Linked DNA regions of Homo sapiens: region 2 is linked to region 1. The links are contacts of gene promoters, found by promoter capture Hi-C in human tissues and cell types (Jung and others, 2019). All regions are on one chromosome and are shown on one strand. The core of a region is centred on a gene start or on the middle of the fragment in contact, and the rest is flanking DNA. Distances in the headings are between cores, read along the strand shown.

Evidence for each region. The method cuts DNA at HindIII sites, captures the fragments that hold promoters and counts their contacts. A contact is called where the count stands out against the background at its distance.
Region 2: a fragment that was not itself captured here is called in contact with the fragment with the promoter of SUCNR1 in region 1 in 1 of the 25 tissues and cell types used here (aorta).

Annotation. Positions count from the first base shown.
Region 1 is chr3:151,871,250-151,876,723 of GRCh38, reverse strand. It overlaps SUCNR1 (succinate receptor 1), which reads right to left and starts at 3,081. Exons shown (of 3, transcript NM_033050.6): 1 at 3,018-3,081. All of the region lies in intron 1 of AADACL2-AS1 (AADACL2 antisense RNA 1), which reads left to right. The HindIII fragment of the contact is 10,580 bases long and covers 1-5,400 here.
Region 2 is chr3:152,721,726-152,727,031 of GRCh38, reverse strand. No RefSeq gene overlaps it. Among named protein-coding and RNA genes, the nearest start is that of P2RY1, 110 kb to the left of the region's middle. The HindIII fragment of the contact is 3,152 bases long and covers 985-4,136 here.

The sequences.
Region 1 (5,474 bases), core at 1,832-4,331:
TATTAAAAATTAGTAATTGTAGTAGTAGTAGCTGTAGTTTAGAAACACATTTGTATAAGGCAAAATTAAATATCTACCAGGATAAATTTTAAAACTGAAGCATTTAATTAAGAAATGACACCTGAAATTAATAAGCATAAGAAGTCTAGAAAGACGTGCATCAAAATGTTAATAGCTTTATCTCTAATGATGAGATTTCAGGTAGTTTTTATTATTTCCTTTCTCCTTTTATCTAAATTTCCTATCATTTTTTCTCTCAAAATTGGCATCTATTTGATAATATTAAAAACTTTAAATTTCTAGAAATATAGCAAAAATGTCAATAGGCTTTAACATATTAACAAACTTTATTTTTTTTAGCTCAATGGTCAGTTTTTACTATTATTATTTATTCTCAGTAGCTTTTAAGTCCACACTTTCTGGAAGCACTCTCTTCCTATCTTCTATGACACAACAATCTCCTTGTTTTCCTCCTTTCTCCATTTTCATGCTCTTTTGTGGCTTAATCCTTCTTTGCCCAAGTTTTAAATGTTGGACCTTCTCAGGCCTTATTTCTGAGCTCTTGTTATTTTGTGGGTACTCAAAAAGCTGGTGCACAAATTCAAATGAAAATTAAGGTATAGAAAGTTTCCTTGACACAAGAAATTTGTTTCACTTTTGCATTTCCTTTTTTTCTGGTCATAACGTTTATCTTTCTGCCTAGTCACCACTGGTAATGTTAATAGCTTATGTATTGTGCACAGCAGAAAGATTTGACTGCAATGGAAGGAAAATATAGCCACAAAGACTTGTGCAACTAGAGCCTGATTTCCTGCAACTATCACTCAGGCAGGTGACGGGTCACATGAAAGTCAAGGAGCATTCTGCTTTATAGTAGCCCAGAAGGTCGGGGATTGAAGGAGTAGTAGGGAAGGAGTAGAGCTGAAATAAGAGAAATGAATGACTAAATTATCATATTTGTCTTTCTTCTCATACAGTTGTTTCTTCATTTTTTTGAAACAACTTTTTAAAAATGTATGTGTAAAATTATTGTTAAGGTGTAACACTCATAAAATCAAATAGGCAAAAATAAGAAATAAAAATGGTCTGTAAACAGACCACTCCTAATATTTGGGTACCCTTTTACATTTTAATATTTACCTGAATTTTTATTCATAAAAATGAGATTTTTTTATGATGTTTTATAATTTTTTGATACATTTGTTTCATTTTTTCTAAGTTCATAATTCTAATAGATTATGATTTTATAAATATGAGCTGTGCAATATTTGCAGACCAATTTAACTTCACTAGGATACAAAATTTTGAAGATACTATATTTCAAATTGGATATGTTTATAGTTGGGTATGTTTTTAGTGTGGCATCGCAATTCTATAAACATATGAAGTAAGTTGCTCCTTTAAGCAAAACTCCCAATTAAAGAGAAAATTCCCTCATGAAAAATTCATATTCTCTCTTCTGCTATCTAGTGGCTATATTCTTAATTTTTAGGAAATGGAAATAGTGATAAATAAATTGTAACTGATTTGGATGAATTATTTTGAATAGGTATTTTTTAAGAGCAGAAATTAAAGTGAAATCTTTAGTTTCCAGTCCAAAAATATATCTAAAACTGTTAGAATTATTGAACTAGAAGCAATATCTAATTTACTCACATAAGCAGACCAATAATACTTAACTTGAAAATGTTTTTTACTTTAAATATATTCAGCCTTTTGAAAATCTGCATTTTTGAAATTTACTTTAAAATATATATGTGATAGTTTCTTAGCTTTTTAATTGTTTGTTTTTATAGTCATCACAATTAAACAAATAACATTTGTAAAATGTTTACTTTTAAGTGCTACCTTAAGGCAAATTTACATGGTAACATGAGAATTTTTTTTAACAAATTACTTTTTTGATTACTAAATAATTTGAGCAAAAATATATATTCACACTGAAAAGATATAATAATTTAACATTTGTAACTTTATTTTTATGTATTCCATACATTACACCAGAAATTAAGGTATTAAAAAGTAATAGTATGGCACAAATTGTGTATTAACTTCTTTAAGAATACCACACACATTTTGAAAAGTTATGGAAGGTAGAATAGAAATGGTTTCTGCAATTTTTCATTTTTCCTAAGTAAATTAATTATTGGGTAATATCATTTTTACACACATAAATGTTAAATTTAATTTTTAGGATGCCTGAAAATTCCCCCAAATACATTATTTTCTAAACATAAAAATATTATGCCCCAGCACAGTGGCTCATGCCTGGAATCCCAACACTTGGAGAGGCCGAGATGAGTGGATCACCTGAGGTCAGGAGTTTGAGACCAACCTGACCAACATGGTGAAACTCCATCTCTACTAAAAAATCCAAAAAAAATAGCCGGGCGTGGTGGTGGGCGCTTGTAATCCTAGCTACTCTGCAGGCTGAGGCAGGAGAATTGCTTGAACCCCAGAGGCGGAGGTTGCAGTGAGCCAACACATGCTGTAAATGTGTCACTCTGGCACTCAGACACTCTAGCCTGGGTGACAAGAGTGAAACTCTGTCTTAAAAAAAAAAAAAAAAAAAAAAAATATATATATATATATATATATGTATGTATATGTGTGTGTGTGTGTGTGTGTGTGTGTGTGTGTATGTATCAAATACATGATTGTTTCAAATCATTTAGGAACTTTAATTTTTCCCCATAAGTAGTTATATTTATTTAGGTAAATCCAATTACTATTTTGTTGAAATATAAGTTGTTGAGATGTTAGCAAATATAATAAATCCTTTTACATAAAATAAAATTAGTATTTGACAACTAAAAGAAGACAGTTAATTTGTTGAAAAATAAACGTAGAGATAAAAATGACTTTTTTTTTTCAATTATTTTGCTGTTTTACATCTATTTATAAAGAATTAATTTAAACACTTAATACTGAAAACCTTAATTGCTCACAGGTCACCTTTAGAAGGAAATCTGGCCTTACTTTATACACTGAGAGGCACAATTTGCCATGTAGCTTACCATTCTGTTGGAAGACTTGATCCCTTGACAGGAACTCTGCCAGCAGCTGGATATAGCTTCTGACCCAGTGTTGTGCCACTGGACATGGTTATTACAGTGTCCTATTTGCATATCCTATTTGCATATCCTGCAGCCAAGATTAATAATTCAAAAGCCCAGGAATAATTTATTCAGTCAAACCTCCCAGTCAGAGATGTTCATGCAGAGGAATTTTTGTGAGGCTTTTATTTTCACATTCACATTTATTTTATTTTCACATGCAGTTTTGCAATTGAATGACAAAAAACAAGTAACTCATTTCACAGGAAACACATTTACCAAATAGATTTTTAGAAAAACACTGTTGAACTTATTTTATCCACTACCAAAGCAACAGAGAAGCATTCCTTATTTTCATTTTATTTGCATATTTACACAATAAGAAGTGGTAAATACTGCTTATATTGGGAATACAGTTGCCTCTGCTTTTCTTCTTTTTTAAAATTAATTTTCTTAGTGAATTCTGTATTGAGAATATAATAACGAAACCTCTGTTTTCAATAACTTTGAGGGAACTATAAAACTGAAATTTTAAAGGGAAACCTGGATATATGCTATGTTGGTGTACTAGCAAAAAGATACTAGAGCTTCAAGTTATTTTCCATTTTATTTTCTGTGCTTAAAATCAAGAAACACATAAAAGATACATCAGATAGCTAGGGATTAGGGAGAGAGATGCTAAGTAAAATAACCTTAATAGATGGCAATTTATATATCCCAATCAATGCTCTGAAAAACATCTGGAAGTACATTACCACCATTTCAGACAGGAAGCACACCTGGCTTTTTCCAAGCATTATATTAGGTTTAGATTCAAGTAAACACTCAGTCTTCTTGATGTGAAGCATAGGGATTATACTAAGAAAGCCCATAATTGTGCAGGCAGCAGTAATTCAATTTAAATGCTATGTAAGTTGAATATTGAGTTAGCAATGACAGGCAGAAGCCCAAAAAGAAGCTCTGTTACAGGCATCCTCCTAACTAAGCATTTCTCCTCACCAATATCTGACAGCTTAAAAACTCAGGAACTCAAAATATATGTATGTATATATACACATACATATATACATACATATGTGTCTATATTACACACTTTATATACATGTGTAAAATATATTTATACATGTATGAATATTTATGTATACAAACATGTGCATTTACATGAAATAAAAATATCTATAATTTGTTGAGTTCTTGTGATGTGGCAGGCAGGTATTACACTAAGTACCTTTATGCATCAAATGCATATAGTAATCCTCTGAGGTTGTTATTATTTAAGATTTTTCTCATTTTGCAGATTAAAAAGCTAAGGTTCAGAGAGGTCAATTAACTTTCTCAAGATTGCAGAATCAATAACGGGAGGGACCAGAGCTTAAGCCTATGTACTTGGATTCTAAAAGCACCGACTCTGATTCTTGACTGCCTACAGAATTGAATGACAATACCCTTGTGCACAACAAAGTCTAAGAATTAATAACAGGTATTTTTCAGTAATGCAATTCTTTTCTACTTTTAGAAGGAAGAAAGGTTAAAACATTATTTTTGTCTATATTTTTAAAAGGGCAAAAAGCATTTGAATAACCAATGCCAGGCTTGTTAATTTTAGACATAAATTAACATGAACCCCTTCCAAGAAACAAAGACAAATGGATGTATTTCACAGGTTTCTGCCACCATTCTGATGGAAGAAAAGAGTAATTCCCCCTTTGTGGGGTGGTGGGAGTTCCCGAGAGCTTCCTCTTTCTTCGTCCCACTTCCTGACTACCATCTCACTCTGGCTGCTAAGACAAAAATTGGTCTATGCTTCTCCTTTTTCATAGAACACGTCATCTAGACTGTAGCCTGGTAGCCTTGTTTCCCTCCCAAGTCCTACTTCCTGTTTCCTCCGAATGCTCTCAGTTGAGATACTAGAGTGTTACTGGGAAAGACTTACTAAAAGGTCACGAGTATTTCTGCTACAAAGCTTTATGCAGGTCTGCAAAATGATAGCTGCACGGGAACAAGGCTGGATTCAGAATTATGACCCTGTGAGCAGGGTGGGTTTCATGGTATGCTACTGTGTAGTCTCACAGTGCTTCACACTCAAAAAAGATCACACAGTTGAGTTAATGCTCTACTGTCACATTCTTAATTAAAATGTTTCATAACTTCTTAACAAGGGACCCCATATATTTCTTTTGCACTGGGCTCTACTAAATATGTAGCCAGTTCTGCCTGTGAGAGTAGAAACCTCCTCAGAAACTATTTCTATTCAGTATAGCACATCAAATTTTGAGGGGGCAAAGTTTTTTTGTTTTGTCTTTTTTTTTTTTTTACATATAACATGTTGAGATGCACTGCTTGAGAATCAATGGAAGTTTGAAAGGCAGTGAAAGTTTGCAGTACTGGCCGGGCATGGTGACTCACACCTGTAATTTC
Region 2 (5,306 bases), core at 1,311-3,810, 850 kb before region 1:
CATAAACCAAAATAAATCCCTTTTCTTTATAATTTACCCAGAATCAGGTCTTCCTTTCTAGCAATGCAAAACAGACTAACACAGATGGTATTAGGAGATAAGGTCGTGGGAGATGATTAGGTCATGAGGGAAGAGCTAAGAGCTCTCATGAATGGGATTAATGACCTTATCCAAGAGGCCTTAGAGAGCTCCTTTGCCTTTTTTTGCCATGAAAGAACACAGTGAGAAGGCACAATGAGAAGGAACCAAAAAGTGGGCCCTCAAAAGACAGTAAATCAGCCAGTGCCTTAATCTTGGATTTCCCAGCATCTAAGCCTGTGAGAAATAAATACAGCATCTGTTGTTTATAAGTCCCTCAGCCTACAGTAGTTTGTTATAGCAGCCCAAACAAAGACACCCAAAGTGATGAAGATATTCTTTTATGTTGCTTTCTAAAATATTGTTTTGCCTTTTGCCAACAGCTTTCCCTTTCACAATTCAGAATTATTTTTTGTATTTGTACTTTTATAGTTGCTGTGAGATAGAAGTCAACATCTTAGGCAGAGAGAATAGCTAACACTAAGACAGCTGTCAAGATCCTGAGTCTAAGGAGGAAGAGGAAGAAGAGGAGGCTGGAGCCAGTGAATGAGGCAAGAGGGAGAGGAAATGAGGTGTAGAGGCAGCCATTGCCACCCACTGAAGAACCTCTTTGACTTTGGTAACCTTTTTAAATTTTGTTCTAAATGTATGGGAAGCTATTTGAGAATTGGGAACAGGTGTGTGATGTGGTAAGCTTTAGCTCACTAAGAATCACTGACTACTGTGAGAATAATTAACAGAGATGCACAAGTAAATGCAGGTGAACCAGTTAGGAGGCTTCTGCACTTTGCCAGGTGAGAGATAATGGAGGCTTGGACTGGGATTCCAACAGTGGAGGTGGTGAACCATGAACAGACTTGAGGTTTGTTCTGAAAGTAAAGTTAACAAGATTTTCTGATAGATCAGATATAGGCTTAAGAGAGAAAAAGGTATCAAATACGATTCCAAGATGATGATATTTACCAAAATAAGAAAAACATCAGTTAACATTTTGTTGGCTCAACAAAACTCTGATCCAGTTGTGAATGTTGCCAGAAGTAGTCTATATCACCAATTTTGGACTTAATGATAAAAAAATTACCTTGTATTTGATAATGCCTTCCTAGTTAATGTATAAGCTTATCAGTTCCCATATATTAAAGTTATTATAAAAAATAACTTTTAGATATTTGCCAAGCATTCTCATAGGCACTATTCATTCAATCAACCCCTTGAAAGGTTGGCTGAGCCATTAGCCCCCCTTATTTTCAGCCGAGGAAGAGTAAATACAATATTTAATAGGTAGCGAAGTTGAATCTTCAACTGTCTATGACTCTAGAATTCCTTTCTTCTTTTATATATCTTGTGTAACCTTAGTAACTGCAATATCAATGGCTAAGCACAAAACCACTAAGAAGATGTTTGCTAATTGGTTGATTGAACGGTACACACCTGTTATATCTGGGCAAAAAAGATTCTTAGTCAACTATCTACTGATTACACCAGGAAGGCAAAACCTAATTCTATTTCTTCTACTTGATGGTGTTATCTATTTTTAATTAAGTTTATCTAGAAATATTTAACTTATAAGCCTAAACATATTTTCTAATTAAAGTATATGAACATACCCTGGAGTTATATCCCAGCTAATTTTTCCTAATCTGTTTGTTTGAAGTCTCCTTAGTGAGGAAGTGTGAATTGAAGCATGAATGATAAAGAACGAAATGTTGTTTCTACCTGAACTTAAAAATTCAACAGAAAGAACTCATCAACAGCAATTAGTGTCAAAACCCAGATGGTCAGAAGAGACAGACCATCACCTGATTTTATTAATTTATTAAGGAAACGTTTAACGTTGAGATGGGTCTTCAGAAATGTACCCCAAATATGTTATTTTTCCAATAGGCTAATTTAATTAATTCCAACTGGGTTAATTTGAACACATTATCATTGTTTATCTAAAGAGAAAGAACAGGTACAATAAGTTCTAATATAGTGGAGTGAACACAAGACTGAACCCTTTAAATAATTAACGTGAATTCAAGTAACAATAGTTTAAAATCTGAACATGTTAAATTGTCCCCTTAGAGTAAAAATAAAAATAAACTTGTAATACCTGGCATTTGTATAGTGCTTTATAAATTCCATAAAGTGCTTGTACATATTCTGATTGGATATTTACTATCACCCTTAATTATATCCATAGTTTACATTCAATTGAATGATTGTGCCAGGCATCATGCTCAATGTTTTACATACATTATCTTATTTCACTTTTTTCTAATAACTTACAAGTTAGGTTAGTTAAGTAAGGTTTTTGTTGACCAGACAAATATATACTGTCTAACTTAAACAATATTAAAAATATGCTAATTTTAAAGGCTGGAACTCAGACAAATTGAAGCACTTTCTTTGAAAGCATCTGGTTCCAATGCTTTTTCAGGTTTTATCACATTCTGTCCAAGGTTCACATTTTTATGACAGTCTGTCTGGCCAGACTTGGAGTTTGTACCCATTCTCTTGTCCAGATGTTTCAATCTGATTAAGACTAATTTCTGAGCGTGGAAGGTGGAAATAAAAGAAGATTGCTTTACCTGTAACAACTTTGGCATTGACATAGAAACTAAAGCATACCATATAACATTTAAAGGGAAAAAACACATGAAAAGTTAATGCTACCTCCCAGATTTCCAGAGTCAGTAGAGAGAAAAGAGGAGAAATCTCAGGCTATACGCACAAGGCAAAGAAGAGGTCGGGTGGCTCCTGCAGCCTTTAAGTCCCTAAGAAGCTAGGTCAATCTCGATAGTCACCAAGAAACAGACCTTCTGACAGAGAGTCCAGCAGATTTAATAGTAGTGGGACATCTGGGGGCTTCACTCTGGTAGGAGTGAAGCCAGATTTAGGCTTGTAAATAAGCTTGAGTTGGGGGTTGATGTGCAAGTCCAATGTCTGCTCTGGAGAGATGCTCATAGGGCCCTCTCTTCTTTGGTTAACATTCTATGAAGGAAATACAACTGCCAAGAAAGAATCAACAAATACGCGAGAAAGCTTTTGAGAGAAGGAAAGTAGTTGGGAAGGGTGCATGTTTTGGCGTGGGGATATGGTGAGCCTGCTGTCAAGGGAAGAAGGCCGCTGGTAGCAGCAGAAAAAGGCATAGTAAAATAAAGTTCTGTTGCTTCCCTTGCCCACTGTGTTCAATTATTGGGAAAATCATCAATAGTTCTCTTGTTTCAGAACTCTATGGCAACTACCACTGGGGCTGGTGTTCTCAGAGGAACTATCAGAGCAGCACTGAAGCTTGGTTGGGCATAGGAGTTGATGAAAACACATGATACAGATTGGGGATACCTAATCCAAAAATCTGAAATTCAAAATGCTCCAAAATCTAAAACTTTTTTAGCATTAACATGACACCACAGGGGTGGATGAAATAGTGTGATTTCTGCTTTCTGATGGCTTAATCTATATGAACTTTGTTTCATGCACAAAATTATTTAAAAGATTGTATAAAACTACATTCAGGCTATGTATGTAAGGTGTATATGAAACATAAGTAAATTTTGTATTTAGACTTGAGTCCCATCTCTAAGATATCTCATTACATATATGCAAATATTCCAAAATCTGAGAAATCTGAATTCTGAAATCTGAAACACTTCTGGTCCCAAGCTTTTCAGACAAGAAATAGTCAACCTGTATCTACTATACATGGCATTTTGCCTTTTTATCCAGACCCCTCCAAACCCTAAGGGTTTGTGGACTACTTCCTAGGGTGACTGCCTCCTACCAATTCTGCATTTTCTTGAATATTTAGAGATAAGTAGCAGTTGCTCAGATGATAGCTAATAAGAGTGATTGCTGCCAGGCACGGTGGCTCACACCTGTAATCTCAGAACTTTGGGAAGCTGAGCCGGGTGGAATGCCTGAGTCTAGGAGTTTGAGACCAGCCTGGGCAACATGGCAAAACCCCGTTGTCTACTAAAAACACAAAAAATTAGTTGGATGTGGTGGTGTGCACCTGTAATCCCAGCTATTCGGGAGGTTGAGATGTGAGAATCACCTGAGCCCGGGAAGTCTAGGCTACAGTAAGCTGAGATTGCACCACTGCACTCCAGCCTGGGCAACTGAAGTGAGACCCTGTCTCAAAAAAAACAATGATTAATGAATTATGGTTTTCTGTCGGCTGAACCTTTCCTCCCTAAGAAATATCTCTTCTATTCTCTCTCAACTCATTAACTGACTAGACTGGGGTCTGGCCTTCAGATTTCCCTAATATTCACTCCAGACAGAATAGCTGATATCAAACCTCACAGGCTTGGTATCAAAATAGCTGGAAACCCAATAACTACAGCTACTTTGAGTAAAAATTAAAAACTGAAAAACATATACCATCTAAGGCAAATGCTATTATTATTAGCTAACCACACACTATTTACCCATAACTTCACATGTAAATTCAAACCACTGCATTAAAAAGCCCAAGTTAAAGCTTACACCAATGTGAAAGCTCTTACTAAAAAATGTGAATGCTGGTCAGGCAGAAAGAATGGAGTTGTGAAGAATGAAATTATGAAAATAAAGTGCCTACATGCCTGGCATAAAGTAGGCAGTTATTAGTTAGAATTTCTGTCTTACTTTTAGCAATCATACACTTTGTAAATAAAAAGCCAGGTTTGTGTCTTTTTAAAAAATTGGTACAGCTTCAGGCACTGTATAAGTTTTCTGAGGCTGCTGTAACAAATACCACAAACATAGTGGCTTGAAACAACAGAAATTTATTCTCTCACAGTTCTGGAGGCCAGCATCTGAAATCAGTATCATTGGTCTGAAATCAAAATGTGGCATGGCAGGTCTGTGCTCCTTCAGGAAGCTCCAGGGGAAAGAATCTGTGTCTTGCCTCTTCCAATTTCTGGTGACTGCTGACATTTCTTGGCTTGTGGCTGCATCACTCCTGTCTTCATGGAATCTCCCTTTGCTTTGTCTTCACACTCTCGTGTTTGTTTCAAATATCCCTCTGTTTGTCTCTTGTAAGGACACTTGTGATGACATTGGGTCCAGATAATCCAGAGTAATCTCCCATCTCAGGATTCTTAACTTGATAACCATGGACAAAGACCTTTTTTTTGCCATATAAGGTAAAATTCACAGGTACTAGGAATTAAGATGTGGGATGCACTTTTTAGCCTACACCACAAACACCTATGCTAACACATAGTAAGTTGTTAACAACTATTTGTAGAATAAAATCT